2 separate regions of the Homo sapiens genome follow, and region 2 is linked to region 1. The links are contacts of gene promoters, found by promoter capture Hi-C in human tissues and cell types (Jung and others, 2019). All regions are on one chromosome and are shown on one strand. The core of a region is centred on a gene start or on the middle of the fragment in contact, and the rest is flanking DNA. Distances in the headings are between cores, read along the strand shown.

Region 1 (4,295 bases), core at 979-3,478:
AGCCCTGTGTTCTTGGCTGCACCAGTATAGCGTGGAGCCCTCTCTGAGTTGGAAGCATGAAAAGAGTGAGTAGGTCTTGGTTCAAATACCTCAAGCTCACTTTTCTTACTGGGTTTCAGTAGGTTTTCTTGAATAAATGTTCCTTCATTTGTTGTGCACCTTTAGGACCATTTTTAGAAATTTAAATGGTTGCTTATATATAAAACATATAATTTTCACCAGTTTTGCTTTGAGCTGGGTGTACAGGGCTTCTCATGTTGTTATGCCTCTGTGGGTTCTGTTTCAATAACTTAAAGTCAGTGAGAATGTGGACAGTGGAAAACCACACAATTCAAAGTCCAGTGCTCACATAGTAATTTAATATGCACACACGTATCAACTATGAAAATGGCTCAGAACTAAATACGGATTGGGTTGACAGTAACTAAAGTAGGGAGTCCTGCATGGTTAGACCTCCATTCCCCATAAATTCATGGAGTATCTACTATATGGAAGGTATAGGAATAGAAGATAAACCGCTAAAAATTCTGAAAATTAGGAGATTTTCACAAAAACAGAACTAACAAACTAATAAGCTAAGGCAGCCTATTCTAAGTGCCCAGAGAATACATGCTCCAGTTTTTCAGAAGCACAAGAATTATGTGGGACTGGAGTAGTCAGATAGGATTTCTGTGGAGGAAGCGTGAGCTGAGTCCCATTTAGAAGAAAGGTAGGATTCAGCCGGGTGTGTAGGTTGTTGGGAGGGCATATTCCAAGGAGGCATTCCAAAGCAGAAGAGCTCAAATGTGATTGTATTTGGAATACTTGGGTATTGATGACTAGACCTGCCTGCTTGCTGGAAGGTTTGTATAGAGAGATCAAGATGGAGAAATGAGATGGAGAGTGATCAGAAATGCAGGAGAGGCTGAGTTGTTGGACCATGGAGTTTGGACTTTATCTTAGAGAAGAGTGACTTGGGCAAGATATTTTAGGAAAATGGTTTTGCCTGTAGTGTGTAGATGGAATGAAATCTCTGCGTGTGTATGTGTGCATGTGCATACGTGCACATGCACCAGGAAGCCTGGAGGCAAGGACATTAGTTATAAGATTGTTACAGAGGTTTGGATTAAGTGAAGGGATTAGGAATGGAAAGGAAGTGTCTGGTGGATGGTAAGATATAACCAGGACCTCAATAAAGCCAAGCAATTATTAAAACAAGCATGGTAGTTGTGTCCATAAACATAAAGTCCTAGAATGCAAGCTGATTTAGCGATTTGAGATAGTAAGTATATTTTAATTTAAACGGAGTCTCTTTATTTTTGAATTTGCATATACTTTTCTTCCCTCTTCTTATTCCTCTGTCAATACCTCGCACTTATTCTTCCTTTCCGCAATCCCTCTCTTTTAATTTGATCACAAATTAATCTCTTGTATGTATTTACAGGAGGAAACCAATGGCAAACGTTGTGTATGGTTGCAAGGATGAGTTTCTCCCCCTTGAAAATATCCATTCGCATAGAAATGGGAGGCACAGTGACCAACTCTTGCTTCTTAGCAGGTCTAACATGACCTTCAAAACTCCGTAGGACATACTGGTCTTTGGCGGGGCAGCATCTCCCGTCAGACTCAGGCTGGCTGGGTTTCTCACAGCTGCCTGGATGTGTGTGACTCGCAGCTCTAAGGACAGAATTGCCAAAGCAATACAAAAACACGGACGAAAAGCAAGCCACAAAACCCCATGCCTTACACATTAGGCTGATGAGTGAAGTCGCGGAAGGTGGCTCTGCTCTTGCCCTTTTAAAATTCCAGTGCAGCAAACACACACACACACACCCGCTCGGTTCTTCCCATTCCCGCCACACTGCACCAGCTTCCGTCCCCAAGTCCTGATTCATGAACCGTGCCACCTTTGTCTCATTTTAAACTGTGCAGACTATTTTAATCTTGCCACCCCCATCCCAGATTTCCCCCTCCCTTCATCCTCTGGAAGCTCTGATGTAAAGCGCTTGCTAGGTGGGAGAGCGCTTCTCCCAATCCGCTCGGGTAGGCGAGTTTCCGAGAAGCCCCCTCCCCGGGACCCCGCCGCGAGCGCGGGGGAAGCGCCTCGGTCCCTTTAAGGTGCCGCGCTCTCCGAAGTGCGGGCAGGGAGCCTGGGCGCCGGCGCGGGTCCTGGAGCCGGGTGGGGAAGTCCTGCGCCCTCCCCCTCCGTCCGCAGCCCAGCCTCGGGGGCCAGCCCCCTCCGCCCACCGCACACGGGCTGGCCATGCGGCGGCTCTGAACGATGTCCTCCTCCTCCTACGCCAAGAACGGGACCGCGGACGGGCCGCACTCCCCCACCTCGCAGGTACCGCCCCCTCCTCCCCCTTCTCCTCTTCCTCCTCTTCCTTCCTCACACCTCCTCCGCCGCCCTAGCGCGCCCCGCCTTCGTGCCGGGCGTGCGGGGCCCCAGTCCCGGGAGTCGGCGGCCCCGCTCCCCCCACCCCTCCTCCACGTCCCTTTCTCCTCCCGCTCCTCCTCTTTCTCCTCCTTCTCTTCCTCCTCCTCCTCACCCTCCTTCGGGTCTCTGCGCTCCCGCTCCGGAGCCCGCAGCCTCCCCCAGCGGATGCCGGGGACTCGGACCCCGCACCCTGAGAGTCTTTGTTAATGGATGTGGTGGGTGCTTGCGGGCTGCTCTTCTCGAGCATCTTTTCAGCAGTCGAGGCTTGCAGTGGGTGGGTGGGGGTGGGGGCTGTATTTGGGAGTCGCGGAGGAGACTTGGGTGCGGGCTCTAGGGGACCCCAGGGAGCGGGTCCGGAGGCGGACTCCAGCCGGGGGTGGTCGCCCCGCTCTGCGCTGCGGTCCTCACCGGCTTCTCTCTGGCCCCCGTGTGTCGAGTCCAGGTGGCCCGAGGCACCACAACCCGGAGGAGCAGGTTGAAAAGATCCGATGGCAGCACCACTTCGACCAGCTTCATCCTCAGACAGGTATGAGAAGGAGGCGGGAGACCAGGATGGGGAGGAGGCCGAGCGCGCGGCGCGGGGGTCCTGGAGCCGGCCGTGGCCCACACGTGCGGGAGCTGCGGGTCAAGCCCGCGCGCGTCTCTTCCCGGCCTCGGCCGGTGCTCGGGCTCAGTCCCTCTCCCTCTAGCCTGGGCTCTTGACGTCTTCGCGTCCCGGCGTCTCCGCACCGCCCCGGGAAGTTAGTTTGTGCATGTGTGTGGACAGTTCGGTGGGGACCTGGCTTAAGTCAGGGACGTTGAATTTAAGAGCTGGAAATATGTCTGGTTGTATCTTTGGTGCGTGGAGAAATGTCTTTAATTCGTATAACTCGACCTAGAGTAACCAGACCCCTCGGGGCCGGGGACCTGGTTTGATTCGAGTTGAGATTTAGTGGTTTCTTCTGTTTTGTCCTAATTTGAATACTCTTATCTGTCTGGATCTTGGGAGAGATCGTCAAGCTCCGGTCAAAAGAAAGACACTGAGCAGAAAGTTTACTCTCACTTTAGGACCGCTTCTTGGATTCGCTTAGTTAGGGAAAGACAGCTGTATCTGGTTAAATAGGAATTAACGAAGGCCAGCACTCAGCTCCGGGTCTGGGTGCGCCTTCACTTCGTGTTTGTTTTCTTAGTGCTTGCTTTCTCCTGCGTGGTTCTAGTGCGAATTGTCTGTGCTCGGGATCTCCGGATCGCTGGTAATGCTCAATGCTTAGGTGCCTTTCACCTTGGCACAGGAAATTGGTCCTCAGTTTTCCAACTGTCCATGTGCTGTTAATGAAACCACCCCTGGCTGCTGGGTGCTAGAGAGATCATGCAATGAGTCACCTTGATCTTTCTTTGGAACAGAAATTGTCGGGGTGTGTCCTAGGTTTCGGGTGACCTAGGAAGACATTGGTCATCGCACCAAGAGGCTTTTATCCCAGGTCTTCCTGTGGGCTGCTGGAGTGACCTTGAGAAGTTCTTTTCCCTCTAGGTCACTCAGTATTGTGTAATGTGTTTTCTAACCTATGATGGCAGCTCTGGTGTTTCTTTAGTGATTATCATCAATTTAAACATATCAACGAGGAATTGATATCAAAATTGAACTCAGACCTCTCCTAAAAGGGTCTATAAAGCATATTTAGATGATATTTATTATGCAGAATTTCACTTTCTGCAGAAGCGGAAATTTTGACTACCATTTAATTCAGCGAGCACTAAGCATGTACATTATGGAAATAAATGCATTTTGGATTCCGAATTCATTCTAAAAGTGCATTCTATCCCCTTTGCAGTATTTAGATTATGTATTTGATAAGGCAAACATATTGTTTATCTTAAAAACATTTTTCTGTTATGCAAC
Region 2 (4,295 bases), core at 822-3,321, 480 kb before region 1:
TGCTTTTCTCAACATCTTTTCGATCAACCCTTTCCTCTATGTGTTAGAGTCAGTTTCTGCTTCTTGCAAAGAAGACTCTGAACTAATATAAATATCCAAAGGGTGGTTTTTACTTCCAAATGTATTTTTTTCTGTTTGGTAGTCTCGGGGCTCAAAAATATACACTGCCACACAACTAAGAAAACATCAATTTAGGTAAGATGGTCATATGTCCTTCCATGGGGCTATTAATAAATTAGCCAATAAGAAAAAATAGATGACTCCTTTTTCTCACCCTGGTCTTTATTTCAAGACCATAAATTTTCGTTAAGAGATATTTCAACACAAAACCAGATGTGTTAATCCCCTTAAAAAATTGTTTTTTAAGGAAAAAAGAATTCAAGGAGCACAATGGTTGACTGTTAATGATTTAGTCTTCATCTACTCAATACACTCATGTTTTCAGGCATGTCACAAACCACGCACAGTATAAGCTTACTATCTGTATTCATGTAATTAAGACTCATTTGTCATCATGTACATTGAAGCCATGTATGTGTTTGCTCAGTGACATCAGGCTTAGACCCCAATCCCACCCCCACCATAAGCAAAGCTTTGGGTTAACATTCTTGCCACCATCACATACCATTAAACTAAAGGTGCTCCCTGCCTTCCTAAAACATGCACTTCAGCTATTACAAGATTTGTAGCAAGATTTTTTAAGGAAAAAAAATATAAGATTGGGATTCTAAATATTCATCAAAACATGAGAAAATGATGTAGTCATACATAAAAATCTTTCAACAGCCAAATAATAACTTCCTTTAATTTACATCTGAACTAATTAATTAGTGGTGGTCAAATTAGATAGAATGGATTTATTGGCTCAAGAGGTAGAGGGGGAAAAATCCTGCTACATAAACTACTTAAGATACATGGCCTTTTAAATGTCTTTCTAGCATCTGGTTCCATATTGCGTTAGTACGCTTGGCTATGCTCTAACAGTGATCAAAGCCCAAAGGATCTGGCTACTCTAAAGCATATTACTTTATTTGCAAAAAATAGATGTTGAACTCCCCTACTTCACCCCTCATTCCTGCCAATAAAAACAAAGATAATCCTTTCATCCTTCTTAGGCAGATGAATGGAATCCCAACTTACTAAAAAAGATGAAAAGCTTTAAAAACAATCTTCTCGAAGGCAAAGACTCTTCTTTGGTCCTCCTTCCTGGTATCCTGGTACCTGGTATGGTACTCTCTCTGCCATATGTGGCTCAAAAGGAATTATTCACTGAACAAAACCCTATCTGCACAGGCATGCCAGAATATAATAATGAATATTATTATAAAACCAGAAGATTCCAATGACATTTTGGTTAAAGAGGTTAAAGAATTCACTTTACTATGATGTGAAAAAAAAAAAATTCACTCACGCAAAGATGGGAGAAAAAGAGGAAGGGATTTAAGAGACTTTGAGCTGTGAGCGGCATTGCATGTTTTAGAAAGCAAGATCAACACAGAATAACACCTTTTGCACCTCAAGATTGGATAAATCGGTTGAGGCTCTTCTGACCTATCTATAACAACTAAGTTTGTCGGGGGCATGTTGCTACCTTGTCTTCATTCCCATGGCTATTAGGATAATAATCCATTTGCTTGGTCTGTCTATATGGTTTTTAGACAAGAATAATGCAGGATGGTTGCAGCAGAATAAAAAATTCTAGGCAGCAGTTTCACATGACTAAGCAAAAGGAAACTGCTGAAATAGCTGCAGAAGCTTGGGGCTGATAAGACCCTGAAAAACAGGGTGTGGGCCAAGCTGGCAAAGACAAACTGGGTCCAACATGGTGCTGGATTTGATCCAGGTTTCTCCTAGGACCTTATTCTATGCTCATTCACATATTCAATCATATACCCACCAGTGCCATGACAGTTCCAGAACATCGTTATTTGAGGTAAAAATGGGTAGCACCATAGTTCTGAGAAATCTCCAGCTTCTTCCAGGAATCTCCGTGAATACTCCATCCCTTGGTTAAAGAAATCCATAAAGGTAGCAGCCCCAAACCACCTTGTGTGACTCTCTCAAGCATGCCCACACTCCCCTTTCTTGAGTGTGTACTTTTTGCTTTGCAATAAATCTCCACACTTTCACTATTTTCTAACTCATACTTGAATTCATTCTTGTGAGGATGTCAAGCGCCTAGACACCAGCAGGGTTTGGGGTCCCACCAGCATTTGAGGACCTCCCCTAGCCCACTGCTATCACCTTCTATCAGATGCAAATGCCTATGCCAAGGACAGTACCTGAAGACCTACCATCACTCCTGATTAATTACAGAAATGAGGCCAGTTTTGGTTAAAGCTCTAAGAATTCAATGTCAAAAGTAATTTAGTTCTCATTACTATTGTCCAGGTATTAGACTTAGGATTACATTTTTCTTCAATTAAGCACATACTACACCCTAAATAGCTAAAGCATATATAAGTCTGACACCAAAGAGTTAAAACTCAATTCTGCAAGTATCTGTGGGCCTACTATGCATAAGAAAGGTACTCTATCTTACCTAGGAGAAAAAAATATTATCATTCATCTCATGAATTCCTGGCTTTTATTCTTGTTCTATACAAATATATCTTTAGGATATAATCTGACCTGCAGTATAATCAGATTCCTGTTATAATATGAGTCATTATAACAAGGGCCACTGATAACTATATAGTAAATGTTTCCAATGTGAAAAGTACTCAGCATGCAATATTTTCAAATATGACCTAATGATAAAGATTTGGGCGTTATATGAGCTGCACATACTGTTTCTCTTTCATATTAAACCCATCCACCCAAACATACTTCCTTATTTATAAATGTAAAATTTATATATTTATACATGATATATAAAAACATTCACAGACAAGCATTCGTACATTCTTGTCTCTAAAATCTATTTGTCTTGGAAGCCAGAATATGAATTTAAAGATTCACTATTATTCTTCTTCATTCTCTTGGAAGCTGGATATTTTTTCACTATCTTTGGGGCTCAATAGAAAGAAAAAAAAAGATAATATTTGGTTGTCTCCACAGTTGGCATTTACAAAATGGATAATATCAAAATCTTAAAGAATGGACTAGCAGTAAGGAGGCAATGCAAATAAAGGAGCAAGAGGAGTGTCTGCCCTGTTCACATCTTTGAAGCTTCCCAGCCTATGCAGAGGCTCACAGGCTGGTGTCTAGAACATTTGGCAGCTGGGCAGTAAATCCAATTAAGGAGGTAGGAGGCAGGGGAAATAGCTCCGAAGTCCTGTCTCATTTCAGTATTTCCCTTATTTCCTTCAAGGGATTCACAAACAATAAGGCCACAACTTCAACACATTTCAAGGAAGTTCAGGATCAGGAGCACCAAGTCCTGTTCCTGGCTCTGTCACTTATCTAGCTATGTGACCACAGGTAAACTATGTATTTCAATTTCGCTAAAATCAAGATATTAATATTTGTCTCAAAGATGTTCTTATAGAACCAAATGATGCCATGCATGTAGCTGGTATAGCCCCGGCATATAGTAGGTTCTCAATAAATACTATCAGAGTTTCTAGTTCAGAACCTTTCAGGAAAGAGGAGAGAAAACAGTCCCTCTGTGACCTGGATTTTAATCCAGCTCGGGTCTTAATCCAAAAGCATTTGGAATTAAATGGGACTTCTAGCATAACACACAACTTGGCGAAGGGTCCTATTGTAACCTGGGCTTCCACCTGTTCTCTAAGGACTACTTTGTAATTTCTCACCTCAAAGTAGCCTCTGATGTCAGGCATATACCAGGGGAACAAACAGGTACTCTTCTTGGTCCTACAACACTGCCCACTACCCTGTGGGAAAGCAGCTACTATCTAGGCGGTGATGTTTGGATACACTGGGGCAGGGCCCGCGGCGGTGATGTTTGGATACGCTGGGGCAGGGCCCGCGGCGTCATATTGTCTTTGTGTAATCCCTCCTTTCTTTGTGGTCAGACAGTCTCCGTTTCCAACCATGCTCAACTGTTGCATTATTGTTTGGCTGTGACAAGCCCACTTAAGCTTACACGCTCCCAGAATCAGTGCCAGTATTTGCCAGGTTTTTCATAGCATCCAGCAAAAATAAAGTAACTGTGATGAAAGAGTTCATAAAATTTGCATGGTGGACGATCAAGTGCCAATATCAACCCCAATGAAAACCACATACATGTAACAAAACCGGTTTTCAAACTGGATTATTCCATGTTCCCTAAAAACATAAAAATTAAAACAAAAACAACAACAACAAAAAAAGAGTACTGTGATTATTTT

Evidence for each region. Contacts are between HindIII fragments. The study calls those that stand out against the background at their distance.
Region 2: a contact is called between a fragment that was not itself captured here and the fragment with the promoter of CACNB4 in region 1, in 2 of the 25 tissues and cell types used here (adrenal gland and aorta).

The regions. Positions count from the first base shown.
Region 1 is chr2:152,096,977-152,101,271 of GRCh38, reverse strand. CACNB4 (calcium voltage-gated channel auxiliary subunit beta 4) reads left to right here and starts at 2,228. Exons shown (of 14, transcript NM_000726.5): 1 at 2,228-2,323; 2 at 2,859-2,942. The coding sequence starts at 2,261. RefSeq lists a silencer at 2,030-2,319. The HindIII fragment of the contact is 13,270 bases long and covers 1-4,295 here.
Region 2 is chr2:152,581,236-152,585,530 of GRCh38, reverse strand. All of the region lies in intron 9 of FMNL2 (formin like 2), which reads right to left. Among named protein-coding and RNA genes, the nearest start is that of PRPF40A, 130 kb to the left of the region's middle. The HindIII fragment of the contact is 3,076 bases long and covers 534-3,609 here.